Regions from separate parts of the Homo sapiens genome. Here region 2 is linked to region 1. Evidence: promoter capture Hi-C in 16 types of primary human blood cells and fetal thymus (Javierre and others, 2016). All regions are on one chromosome and are shown on one strand. Each heading gives the region's core, a stretch centred on a gene start or on the middle of the fragment in contact. The rest is flanking DNA. Distances are from core to core; before and after follow the strand shown. Region 1 holds the start of TNP1 (transition protein 1). Region 2 overlaps DIRC3 (disrupted in renal carcinoma 3).

What was found. Contacts are between HindIII fragments. The CHiCAGO score rates a contact against its expected background, and 5 or more counts as called.
Region 2: a fragment that was not itself captured here is called in contact with the fragment with the promoter of TNP1 in region 1 in 1 of 17 cell types (neutrophils); the score reaches 6.2 in neutrophils.

Annotation. Positions count from the first base shown.
Region 1 is chr2:216,856,036-216,862,413 of GRCh38, reverse strand. TNP1 (transition protein 1) reads left to right here and starts at 2,350. Exons shown (of 2, transcript NM_003284.4): 1 at 2,350-2,518; 2 at 2,719-2,956. The coding sequence starts at 2,380. The coding sequence ends at 2,747. It overlaps LOC124906118 (a long non-coding RNA gene), which reads left to right. Exons shown (of 3, transcript XR_007088082.1): 2 at 1,432-1,489; 3 at 2,054-2,160. It overlaps LOC124907979 (a long non-coding RNA gene), which reads right to left and starts at 6,017. Exons shown (of 2, transcript XR_007088084.1): 1 at 5,845-6,017; 2 at 4,637-5,270. The HindIII fragment of the contact is 13,346 bases long and covers 1-5,855 here.
Region 2 is chr2:217,658,662-217,665,039 of GRCh38, reverse strand. All of the region lies in intron 2 of DIRC3 (disrupted in renal carcinoma 3), which reads left to right. Among named protein-coding and RNA genes, the nearest start is that of DIRC3, 130 kb to the left of the region's middle. The HindIII fragment of the contact is 1,105 bases long and covers 3,141-4,245 here.

The sequences.
Region 1 (6,378 bases), core at 1,101-3,600:
TTCCTTAGAGATGTGGGGCAAAATGGGAAGGAACAGGATAGTTAGAAAAATAAAAGAAGGACTTTTTATTCATTGACCAAATGTATTTCACAAATACTTACTGAGCTTCTATTCTGTGGCAGGACTGATGAACTCCCAGGGAATATTCAGTAGTGAGCCCAATTTCTCAATTCCTGCTTTCACAGAGGTCCCTGCTTTCATGGGGGCATGTTTGTAGGAGAAACAACCAGCCTTGAGTGGACGCAGAAGGTCTGGACTACCAACAAGCAAGCCAGCAGCCTGTTTTATAGAACTTCTTCATGTGAATAAAAGTCACCAACAAGTCACCAATAGAAGGTCTCCAGAGAGACCTGCCCAGAAGCAGGAAAATGGAAAGTGTCACATATGGTGGCTATACAAGGAATCTGGGTTTCAAAACTCAATTTGCCATCTATAGATATCAGAAAACCAGGGAGTGGGACTTGAACTACTTTCGCTCTTCTATTCAACCAACTTTTGCTAAGGATCTCCTGCATACAAGATGCTCAGTTCTTGAATGAGGGTAATGACAATGGAGAGAGGAGAGACAAATGGAAGAAATAGCAAACAAGTTCTATAGAAATCCGAATGAGGCGGGCACAGTGGCTCACGTCTGTAATCCCAGCACTCTGGGAGGCCAAGGTGGGCAGATCACCTGAGATCAGGAGTTCAAGACTAGCCTGGCCAACATGGCGAAACGCTGTCTGTACTAAAAATACAAAAATTAGCTAGGCATGGTGGCACACGCCTGTAATCCCAGCTACTCAGAAGGCTGAGGCAGGAGAATTGCTGGAACACAGGAGGCAGATGTTGCAGTGAACCAAGATTGTGCCACTGCACTCCAGCCTGAGCAAAAGAGAAGACTCGGTCTCAAAAAAAAAAAAAGAAAGAAACATTTTCAAAAGCAAAGCATTTACTATGAGGTGTAATGGAGGAAAAAGGAAAGGCTGGATGACTTATACACCAATAATCATTCAATATATCTATTTGTAAGTGTCAAAGGCACTTCAAAGCTGGTATGTCTTATACCAAGTACATGATCATCACTCTCCCCATGTCTGGCCTTTATCCCCATGAATGGCACCAGCATCCAGATAACTGCATTATACAGAAACAAAAGCCACACCCTTGACACCATCTGCTTTCACCTCCCAAATTCAATCCGTCACCAAGCCTTGGTCTCTTGTCTACTTTAGATCTCAATCAACACCTTTCCTGGCCAGACCTAAACCATCATCAAATCTTTCTCTCTGCTGAACCATTGATGTTGACAGTAGCATCTCCCTTTACACAGCTCCTCCAGTCAATACATCACCCACTTGGCACCCTCTAATCTCACATGCCATCCTCTTAACATTTTTAAAGGCTTCCCAATGTACTTGATCATGGTTTGATCTCTGTCTCTCCCTCCAGCCTCATCCTGTACCATGTAGGGAGTTTCCCTCTGCCCTTCTCCAGCCAAAATGACTCCGTAAGTACTTACTCACTGATTTATGTAGACATCTGATGAATGGCTTTCTCCCCAGTGGGCTGAGAGTTCCATGAGCACAGTATCTACGTGTGTTTATCCTCCACTAATTTTCTACCACCTAAATGTATGGCATATGCTATGTGATCAATATCTGTGACTGAATTTTAAAAAATGATTAGGTTAATTGTTCTGAACCAGAGCCATTTTTTCCCTCACTTCCCCAGCCTCCCAAAGAAACAGGTGGCAATGTTTGGGAATATTTTGGGTTGTCATAGCTGCCAGGCTTCTCTGGTGTCCAGTGGGTAATGGCCAGGGATGTTGCCAAACATCCTAGGGTGCACAAGACAGCCCACTGAAAGTTACCCTGCCCATTGTGTCAACAGTGCCAAGACTGAGAAATCCTGACCTAGATGAAAAAGAAGGAATATTTCTATTTTGATCATATTGAATTGGGTTCTGTAGAGTCAAGTCCTTACAGAAATAAATTTATTATCTCTGGATGCTGTGAGAGACTTAAACAGTCATGCATACACACACACTCAATGACTGTTACATTTCCTACAGGCAGGAGAAGCATATCTGAATGGTCTCTTGTACTCATCCAATGCCTGGCACAGGGCTGGGATTCAGTTTCTCAATAACACCTCTCTGGGAAAGCCTCACTTAACATAAAAAGGACCTCAAAACTGAGGGCAGCCCTTGAGCTGCACGAAAAGGACCACCTTATTTCACAAATGTGACCAAAGTGCAGCAAAGGTGAGTGACAGCACAGTAGAGCCCCGCCCACCTGCTGAGCCATGCCCCTTCCCTGTCACAATGGCCAAGGCCTTAAATACCCAGACTCCTGGCCCCCGGGCCTTGCAAAGCCCCTCATTTTGGCAGAACTTACCATGTCGACCAGCCGCAAATTAAAGAGTCATGGCATGAGGAGGAGCAAGAGCCGATCTCCTCACAAGGGAGTCAAGAGAGGTGGCAGCAAAAGAAAATACCGTAAGGGCAACCTGAAAAGTAGGAAACGGGGCGATGACGGTGAGTGAGGGATGGGGAGGAGATTGCCAAACTTAGGCACACATTGCTGCCAGGCCCTCCCTCTTGGAGGCAGCTCTCACAGGACCCTGAAATCTTGGCCTGAGATTATTTCCAATAACTAAATGCAGATTTGAGCAACAAGAGTCTTGATGGGAATGTTCTAATTCGTGTCTCTGTTGCAAACCTGTCCTTTCCCACAGCCAATCGCAATTACCGCTCCCACTTGTGAGCCCCCAGCGGGCTCTGCCCTGGTGCGCTTCACACAGCACCAAGCAGCAACAAGAACAGCAGAAGGGGAACTGCCAAGGAGACCTGATGTTAGATCAAAGCCAGAGAGGAGCCTATGGAATGTGGATCAAATGCCAGTTGTGACGAAATGAGGAATGTATATGTTGGCTGTTTTTCCCCAACATCTCAATAAAACTTTGAAAGCAGAAATGTTTACTTTGATCTTTTGGTTGGAAAGACTTGAGTTCCTGAGCTAGGTGGGTTTGGGGAAGAATTGGCCAGTATGAAACCATTAAATGTGACTTGGAAAATATCAAAAGTAATTTGTCCTCCAATTCCCTCCCACCACCGTGGGAGGTGGTCCTACTCTGGCCACACACTATTGCCGTATTTGTCTTCATCCCAGTGTGCTGTCTCTCTCCTCAACATGGAAAGGGAGAAGAGATAAAAAAGGGAGAAATGCATTCATTAGCATTAACCAAAGGATTCAAGCTGTTTTTGTTAGAGCTTAAACCAAAGGATGCAAGCTGTTTTCGTCAGAGCTTATAGCATAGAGGTGTTGAAAGCTAAACTAAATCTAAAGACTTGGCCCGGAGATAGAGATCACCTGGAGGAGCTCTTAGAAGCTCTTAATTCATTGATCATATGGGCAGTATTAGCAGGCTAAGAGATGGGAACACCTTCTGAACAGAGACCAACATGTTCTTTGTAAAGGATCCTATTGGTAACAGTGGAAGTGATGAGAGTTTAGATTTCTTTAGGTTATTTTGGTAGCTATGTTGGGCTTGAGGTGGGCAAGACTGAAGAGTGGGATATTGCCTCGTAGCATGCCATAAGCCTTAGTCCAGTGTGCCTAGAAGTAGGAATTGTCTCAATCTGAGTATTGATCATTTGACAGAGAGAGAGAGAGAGAACTGACTTTAGGGATAGAGCTGGTTCTGCTCATTTAGGAAATTCCTAAGCCCTCACTTTACCTTGTCCCTGAGTTGTAACACAATTTATGATGTCTCTGGTCAAGGATATGACATTCACCCACTCAGAGGTGGATCGTATTTTTCTTGTTTCCTGTTGCCTCAGAGGTAGCTCCAGGGTAGAAATGAGACTCATATTTAAACTCAAGAACCAACCACCCACGTGGTTTCTGGGGAAGTAACCAGGAAAGGGTATAAGCAGGAAGGAATGAGGGGGCATGAGGTTAGACACGAAGTTTCCAGCAGTCAGGGGTGTGAGACATGGGAAGAGGACACTATTAAGTCTGAGCCTCATGCAAATGTGTGGGTACCAGGATGTTGGTCCTATAAGGGGTGGCAAGGGGTGTTCCTGTGGGTCAGAATCTAGAAATGCAATAAAAAAAAGCATGTTCATTTTTCAGATAAGTTATTTCACTTGTTGGGGTAAAATATTTCAAGTCCTCACTCTTCCATAACCCTAAGAATGAGCATGCTGATTCAGAGCTGTTTTCAAGTTCATGTGAAAAACATCTCTCCTTACCATCAGGCACACAGATACTTCAAAGTTTTCCATTGTCAGTTTCCCTTTTTGTTAAATGGAGGATAGGGATAGGGAAAATGCTTCATAACCCTCATCCTCCATGGTTGTGTATATTTTACCTCCTAAATGTGACTTTTGTTTGTCTTTGCTTCTCTAACCAAACTCAGATTAGTCTCAAATAATCCTATATGTGTCCGTAGTGTCACTGAACGAAGCTCTAACTTCTTAGAAGTTTGCACACATATCTGATCTGGATTCCCTCCTTCAAATCTCTGAAAGAACTCATCAGCCATGGCTCTCACCCTGCTCTCATGCCTCCTGGGACTTCCTCTGCCTCTGTATAAAATATAAACACACTTTGCAACACATGAAATCTAGAAAATAAATCCAAAAAGTAAAAATTGTTTAATTATTTTAATGTGCTTTTGCTGCTCTTGCTGTAAATTCTTTTAAACTTAGCCTCATAGGTTGGGTTCTCAGGGAGTGGAGATGGAGCTTGAATGCAAGATGTTTATTAGAGGTCAGTACTTGAAGAGGGAGGCTGCAGGGTCGTACAGAAGAAGGAGCTGCACAAACCATCAGGCAGTATAGCCAGGCCTTTATACCATTTATACCCCCCCTGGCTGGGCTGCGCCAGTAAGACATGGCATTTCCCTGCTGAGGCAGACTCAGAAGGGAGCATCAGCTGGAGGTTCCTTGGTGGACCACACACCCACAATCTGAGCAGCTCACCTCGGTGTCTATTACAATTGCTCTCTGGATGATCTGTATCTTTTCTCAGCCTCTGGTCCCCATCTTCCCCTTAAGCCTCTTCACAGCTTGCTGCCTTGCCACTTCCTGCTATGACTGTGTGTCATGAGTCTTCAAATGCTCTTGTGCACAGCTCACTTCTTGTGGATTGCCAATTTGCACAAAGATGACCTCTCCCATAGGACAAAGTCAACAGTCAGGAACAAACTAGAATACCGTGATGCTGAGTGTGCAACATTTACTTCCCTCAGGAAACTTGTTATGATTAGGGAGCCACAGATCCCTGCAGATGGTCCAAATGAAGACTTTGTCAAAGGGATTATTTACAGAGGAGAGACACCTAGAGCCTACCAATGAGGTCTTCAGACCCTTAGGACTGAGAAGGCAAAAGGGCAAAATAGCACAACAGGAGCCCATTGACAGCCAAAACTGTGTGTGGGAAGGAATGGTTGTGAATGGACCTCCTGGTAAAATCTGTACTAGGAGGATCGCAGCTGTTGTCAGGCTCAGACACAGGGAAGAAACATTCCATCATTTATCTAATCTCCTGCTGCTGCTCTCATTGGCGAAATTCAGAAGTCAGCAGACAAGAGACCCCAGGTGACACAGAGCATAAGGGCCAGCCCCCTGGGGCATCAAAGAGCAGAGAATGTTGGATAAAATCTCCAAAATCCAACAGTGATATCTGACACAACTTTGTAGACAAAATTCTTCTTTCCCTGGACTCCTTAGAAGTTTGCCACTTTATCAACCTGCTTATCTCCTCCCTTATGTTGTCATGGACCGAAGTCCCTTCAGAAGCAAATTGTAGAGAGATAGAGTGAGGAGAGAGTTACACAGGGCTCCTGAACCCTCACCTTAAAAAGCTTGTTTTCATGTTATTTGCATGACAGTATTATCCCCAAACCAATACAACGCAATGTTCTAATGTAGTGCTATATCTTCACAATACTCTAAACACTGAAACAATCTAATTAATCATCAGGACAGGCCTGTGGTGAACAGCCCAAGACTAGCCACGGCAGACAGATCTTCGCCTGGTGACTTCAGCCTCTGCCCTCTTAGACAGGTTGTGAAGGAATGGTAGCCGCCCGGAAAACTCTGCTTTGCACTGGGAACTTTTTCCAGACCCACATATTGGAAGTTTTTCAACACTGGCATTGATGTAGTCTCTGTACCCCAGGAATATTCATTCTGTCCCTCTGTTTACAGTTCCTGTAGGCCCAGCACCTGCAAGGCACGTGTAGGGGTCTTTGACCATGGGGACTCTCTTTCAGAAAACCCAAAGGCCTCACCCCCTGTGTGCTTTTTCTCCATCTCCCTAACCAAGGAGGACTTTGTTTCCCTCCCCAGTTTTCTCCAGAACGCTATGTCCTAAAGTCATCACTTGT
Region 2 (6,378 bases), core at 2,444-4,943, 800 kb before region 1:
ATTCTCCTTAAATAGTCAGCATAAATGCTAAGAAATTTTCTTTAGTTCAACCCAAGTCATTGTTGGCAAAGCGTGCTGCTTGGGAAGACTCAGGCAGAGACAGTGCCAACATGTGGGTCCACTCAGGAGGGGACTGGAACTGGGATGCTAAGGAGGGGAGGGTTGTTTACATTCATGGGAGGAAGAGAGGTAGCAGGAAGGAGGAATATAAGGAGGTTGTTTGGCAGACAGTGAAGTCTAGAGAAAAGCATGGGACAGGAGAACCGTGTGGGGTTCCACAGGAAGGCTGGTCTGATAAGAGTGGAGGATGTTTTTTTTTTTTTGGTTTTTTTTTTTTTTTTTTTTTTTTTTAGGGACAGAGTCTTGCTCTGTGGCCCAGGCTGGAGTGCAGTGGCATGATCTTGGCTCACTGCAAGCTCCGCCTCCCAGGCTGATGCCATTCTCTTGCCTCAGCCTCCCCCAGCACGAGTAGCTGGGATTACAGGCTCCCGCTACCACGCCCGGCTATTTTTTTTTTTTTTTTGTATTTTTTAGTAGAGATGGGGTTTCATCCTGTTAGCCAGGATGGTCTCGATCTCCTGACCTCGTGATCTGCCCGCCTGGGCCTCCCAAACTCCTGGGATTACAGGCGTGAGCCACCACACCCAGCCGGAGGATGGGTTTTACACATGGTCTTGGATGAGTTGACTCAGTTTCATTGGAGGTGGGTTCAGTCCAAAAGCACAAGAAAGTGCTTCTATATCTCTAAGAGTAGTGGTCCCCCAAACCAGCAGCTCATTAGAATCACCTGAGCACCTTTTAAAACATTTAGATTCCAAAGTCCCATCCTTGGAGGGTCTGATTGTGTGGGTTTGGGGTGAGGCCCAGGAATCTTTAATTTATAAAAGTTCTCCAGGTGATTTTTGACACTCATTCAGGTTTGGCAGTCAGTGCTTCAGATAGAGAAAACTAACTGTGGAGCTGCTGATGGCTAAGGGGTTGCAAAGGCATGGATCATCAGTCAAACAATTGAAGAGATGTGGGACTGTGTTAGGTGATGCGAAAGGTGCAAGACATGGAGTGGCCATTTTTAAAGAGCTTGTAAAGTGTTTCAGAAAAGGCAGTGGGTGCAAACCCAAGGAGAGTTGACTGTGCAAATAATACAAGAGGGCCTGGCAAGGGGCAAATTGGTGGTTGAAGTGACTGGGGTGGACAGAGAACTTCAGGGAAGGGTTGAGGTGGATGTGAGCCCTTCCTGGAATGATGGGTAGATGTCACTGGGCAGGGTAGATTCAGGCAAAGGCTTCAGGTTTATAAATTCAGGGAGACAAACGAGGAAGAGGTCATGGGGTGCAGTTGTGCGATATCCAGGGTTTGGAAAAAGGCTTTGGTCTTGGATTCAGGAAGGATGGGCATAGCAAGGAATCTTTTGGGAAATTCAGTGGATTTGTTGCCAGGGGACCTCTCTTCCCCTCCTTGTCTCAGGGCTGTGCCATTATGTTTCTCAAAGAGGGGCCTGCTTGAGTCCAGGGTGTGTGGCTACAACTACTCAGAGATCTGGCAGGTACATCTGTCGTCGAGGAAAGAACTTGGATGTGAGACTTTAAGAGCCTCTGAGGACACAGCTGATGTCCAGGCTGCAGTCATTCCCCACCTAGGGGTGTGAACATATCTGGCCACAGTCATTCCAGCCCTGTTTACAAGTGTTTCTCTTCCCCTCCAAATAAAACCAATTAGATGATTTTGCTCCTCAAGCAACAACCTTACTAAAAAAAAATAGCTTGTATTTATTGAGGGCTTACTCTAGACCTGATATATAGAAAAAGGGTTTCAGTTGCATTTTCTTAATGGATCTCAACATAAATTCTTGTGATAGTTACTATATGAGTCAGTTTTCCAGAGAAACAGAGCAAATAAAGACAGATTTGGCCCCAGTAATGATGGAGACTGGCAAGATCTGCAGAGCCAATGCTCTACAGACTATTGGGTAGGAGAATTTTTTCTTACTCAGGGGAGAGTCAGTCTCCTGTTATATTCCGGCCTTCAACTGGATAAGGTCCACCCACATTATGGAAGGCAACTTGCTTTACCTAGTCTACTAATTTAAATGTTAACTTCATGCAAACACCCTCACAGAAACAGTCAGAATAATGTTTGCCCAAATGTGTGGCCCAGTCAAGTTGACACATGAAATCAACCATCATAGGTACTATGAAGATCAACTTTCTTATTTTGTAGAGGAGGAAGGGAGGCACAGATAGGTGGAGTAAAGTGCCCAAGGTGACATGGCTAGTAGGCAGCGGAGCTGGGGTTTCAGCTTATGGAGCCACTGCCTGACCTTCCTAAGCTTTGGCTTTTAATAACTATCTCCCTCATGGAAAGGGAGGGAGATAGTAAATCACTCCTGCTGTGATTCTGAATAAATAGGAATTAGTATTAAATTATGAACTTCAAACAAAATCAAGTGCAGAAGCACAGCATGGTGAAAGTCAACTGAAGTTGCAAGGCATGGCAATCATAAATCATTGCTCCTTTTTTATTTATTTATTTTTTGGGGATGGAGTTTCACTCTTGTTGCCCAGGCTAGAGTGCAATGGTGCAATCTCGGCTCACCGCAACCTCCGCTTCCTGGGTTCAAGCAATTCTCCTGCCTCAGCCTCCCAAGTAGTAGCTGGGATTACAGGTGCATGCCACACCTCCTGGCTAATGTTTTGTATATAGTAGAGACGGGGTTTCACCATGTTGGTCAGGCTGGTCTCAAACTCTTGATCTCAGGTGATCCACCAACCTCGGCCTTCCAAAGTGCTGGGAATACAGGCATGAGCCACTGTGCCCAGCCAAATCACTGCTATTAAGAAAGTTAATGCAAATCACTAAATCACTCCTAAGGTGCTCTAGCAAACCAAAGTGGATATCTTAGACCTCTGAATGTCTCTACCATACCTTCCTAGATGCCTAGAGTTACCCCAGGAAGCAAAGTATTTGGGGGGCATCATTAAACATTTTGCCCTATGGTCTTTTGTTTTCTGGGGGCAGACAGGGTGTATGTGTCTTCTATCAGCTAGCTATTAGGCTTAATCAGCAAGCCTCAGCCTGTCTGATTTATCTAGGGACACTGCATCCTCGCTGGGCCAAGGGATGGAGAGCTTGATATGTAAGCTTAGCAGGAGCAGGCTCGATCTCTTGTCTGTGGCCTGATCTCCTTTGCCACCACCGGGGCAACCTGAATAGCCCAAGAACAGCAAGGAGACACTGAACTCTTGGAGGAAGTAGCAGGCTTCTGAAAGGACTGTGTTTGCTTAATATTTCCAGTGGTGGGAACCTCACAAAGTAACCCATTTTATTTTTAAAGCACTAAAGTAACTTTCCTCTCCTATTGAGATCTGCTTCCTCTTATTCCAGAGTAACAGAATAAATTGTCTCTTTCTTACAGGAAAACCTTTGAAATATTTGAAAACTGGGATCATTTCCCCATGAGACTTTTCTTCTCTAAGCAAAATACTTTCAGTTTCTTCTAGCATTCTTTTTGTGATGTGGTTTATAGACCCATTTTTGGCCTTGTCTTCCTCTGGCTATGGTCTATGCCCTCCTTTTTAAATCCCAAATGTTCTACTTCCAATCTGACCAATGCACTAATAAAGTAGAAATATCACCTCTAAAGTCTTGAACATTAGGTATTTGTTGATGCAGCCCAGCTGCATTAACTTTCTTAAGAGAAATTATTTATTATTGTCTTGTCTTACACCTGCAGTTAACTTAAATTATCTTTTACCCCGCTATGCTTTTGCACTTGATTTTTTTAAATTTGAAGTTCAGAATTTAGTTTAATGAATTAATTCCTATTTATTAAGAATTGAATAGTAATTCTTTTGTTTGTTAGTTATGACTCATATTGCAATCTGACTCTGCCATCTAACATCTCTCTACTGATTTGTGGCTAAGGGAAAATAGGGAGGAACATTGAAGAGAAAGACCTCTTCTCCACACCTTTGTCTAATGATGTTCTTCTGCAGGAGGAAGGAGAACTGCAGAATACTGGTCCTATATTGGGGAGTGGAGAATCCAAGGCTTTTAAGGGGTAGGATTAGGATCCAGGCCAATATGCAAGAAGTGAGTTCCTAAAATGGAAAAAGAAGACGATGCTGCATTTTCCTTTTCTGTTTTCCCTTGTGTCTGGGATCTGAGAACAAGAGTGAATCCAGTAGCTAAGGACACAGATCTTGATGGAAAGACCTAGTGCAAAGGATCCAGTTGGTATTCAAAGCTTTTGTATGTACCCTTTATGTTTCCTTTGGGGCTTAATCTGGTTTCTTTCAGGTCATTGGGCCCAGAAGCTAATAGAAGATATGGTTCTTGCCCTTGGAAAGAAGCTGACTGGTTTGGGGAAGAAGATTTGCATGTGTGAAACCACAACAAAGTGTCTAGGAATGAAGACAAATTTGTGCTAAGTGGTGTGGAGTTGACCACAAGCCACAAGGGGGTCTATGTAGGAGGGTACAGGAGAGGGACAGGCCCACCAGGGAGTATCCCAGAGGAAGTGGGAATAGAGCTGGATTCTGAAGGATTTGGAAGGAGAAGAAAGAAGCAAAGTCTTTTAAGGGTAAAGAAGGACATGAACAAAGTGGGTGGTGGTGACAATATCTCTGCAGAGACTGAGGGATGGAAAACAGACCGGTTCTTCTTCAGACAATGGAAAAACTCTCTGCTGAGAAATACTTGTTGGCAAAAACCTTTCAAAGTCCCCATTCTTGGATCTGACTCGGCTTCACCATTTCTCTAACCACCAGCCAAATCTAGGCGCTCTTTTCCTCGTTTCCGGATTCTTTTTTAAAATTAAAAATTTAAATTTATTAATTTAAAACAAATAATAATTGTGTTTATTTAAGAGAGTACCATGTGATGTTTTGATCTATGTATATATTATAGAAAGGGTTAATCTAATTAACATATCTATCACCTTGCCAACTTAGCAATGTTTTTCATGGTGAGGACATTAAACATCTATTCCTTTAGCATTTTTGAACTATACAATACATTAGGAACTGTGGTCATCATGCAGTGCAATGGATCACTAAAATATCTTATTCTTCCTGTCTAACTGAAACTTTGTACCCATTGACCAACATCTTCTTTCCCATTCCACCTCCTCCCCCTCAGCCTCTGATAACCACCTTTCTAGTCTCTGTTTCTATGAGGTCAAATTTGTTAGATATCACATATAAGTGAGATCATACTGTATTTGTCTTTCTGTGCCTGGCTTATTTTACTTAGCATAATGTCCTTCAGGTCCATCCACGTTCTTCGTGCCTTCTTTGCTGGTCTTCTTCCCTCCATCTTCCTAAACTCTCACTCAAGATTCATATTAATTTTTTTTTTCAAACACAGGCAGGGATGAGCAAGATACAAAGAGGCACATTCATGTAGCCCCAGTTTCAAATATTCTGCCCCACTGTCACTGTTTGTTGGCTCATACTGGTAGGTGTTGTGTCTCAGTTTTTCACTTGGAATATATAGTAATAATATTGATAATGAATAATTACATTCATCTTAATAATAAATTATTAATAATGAACAATAATAGCTGACATCTTCAGAGTGTTAACTAGATACACTAGGTTTATATATGTTAGGATTTAAACATGACAATCCTCCAGCAAGGTAGATACTGTTATCATCCCCATTTTATAGATGAGAAAATTGAGGCAGATAAAAGTTAAATAGATTGCCTAGAGTCACAGATAGTAAGTGGCAGTGCTGGGACAAGCACAGGCATTCTAACTGCAGGTCCTGTCCCATTTACTACACTCCACACTTCATCATAGAAAATACAGGGTACTGGTCTGCAAGGAGCAGGAGTGGAAAGAAAGGGAAAGTTTTTATTGACACCTAGGATGTGCCACTTCTTGTGCTAAGGCATTGTATGCATGTCACCTCAATTAACTCCTAGCCTACCCTGAAAGATGGATATTACCCCATTTTATGAATGAAGGAAACAGGTGCAAAGTAAAGTTGCTGGTTATGGACACAGTTGGTACAATGGATTTAAACTGCAGCCTGTCTTTTCCTCAGAGTCCAATGTTTCCATTACAAATGTGAACTGGCTCCCAAGCAGCTGGTATAGAGATGGTGAGAATAGGCCACATGTGAGCAGAGAGAGGGTGCAAAACTTTCCTAACCATTACAAAGCACAGCACTTCAGTCTGTGGGACACAGCTGGGCACAGCTGGAAGACAGTAGTTAGGCAGAATCTGCAGCAAAGGTGCTGTTGACTTATGCGTTTGAGAACAAAGAGTCTGGACTGATCTAAAGTGTTTATGTGCCATAAATCTGAGAGAGCAGCAGACATGGGGAGCACCAGCTACTGACCACGTCAAAAGCATCTGTTCCCTTTCTACAGTA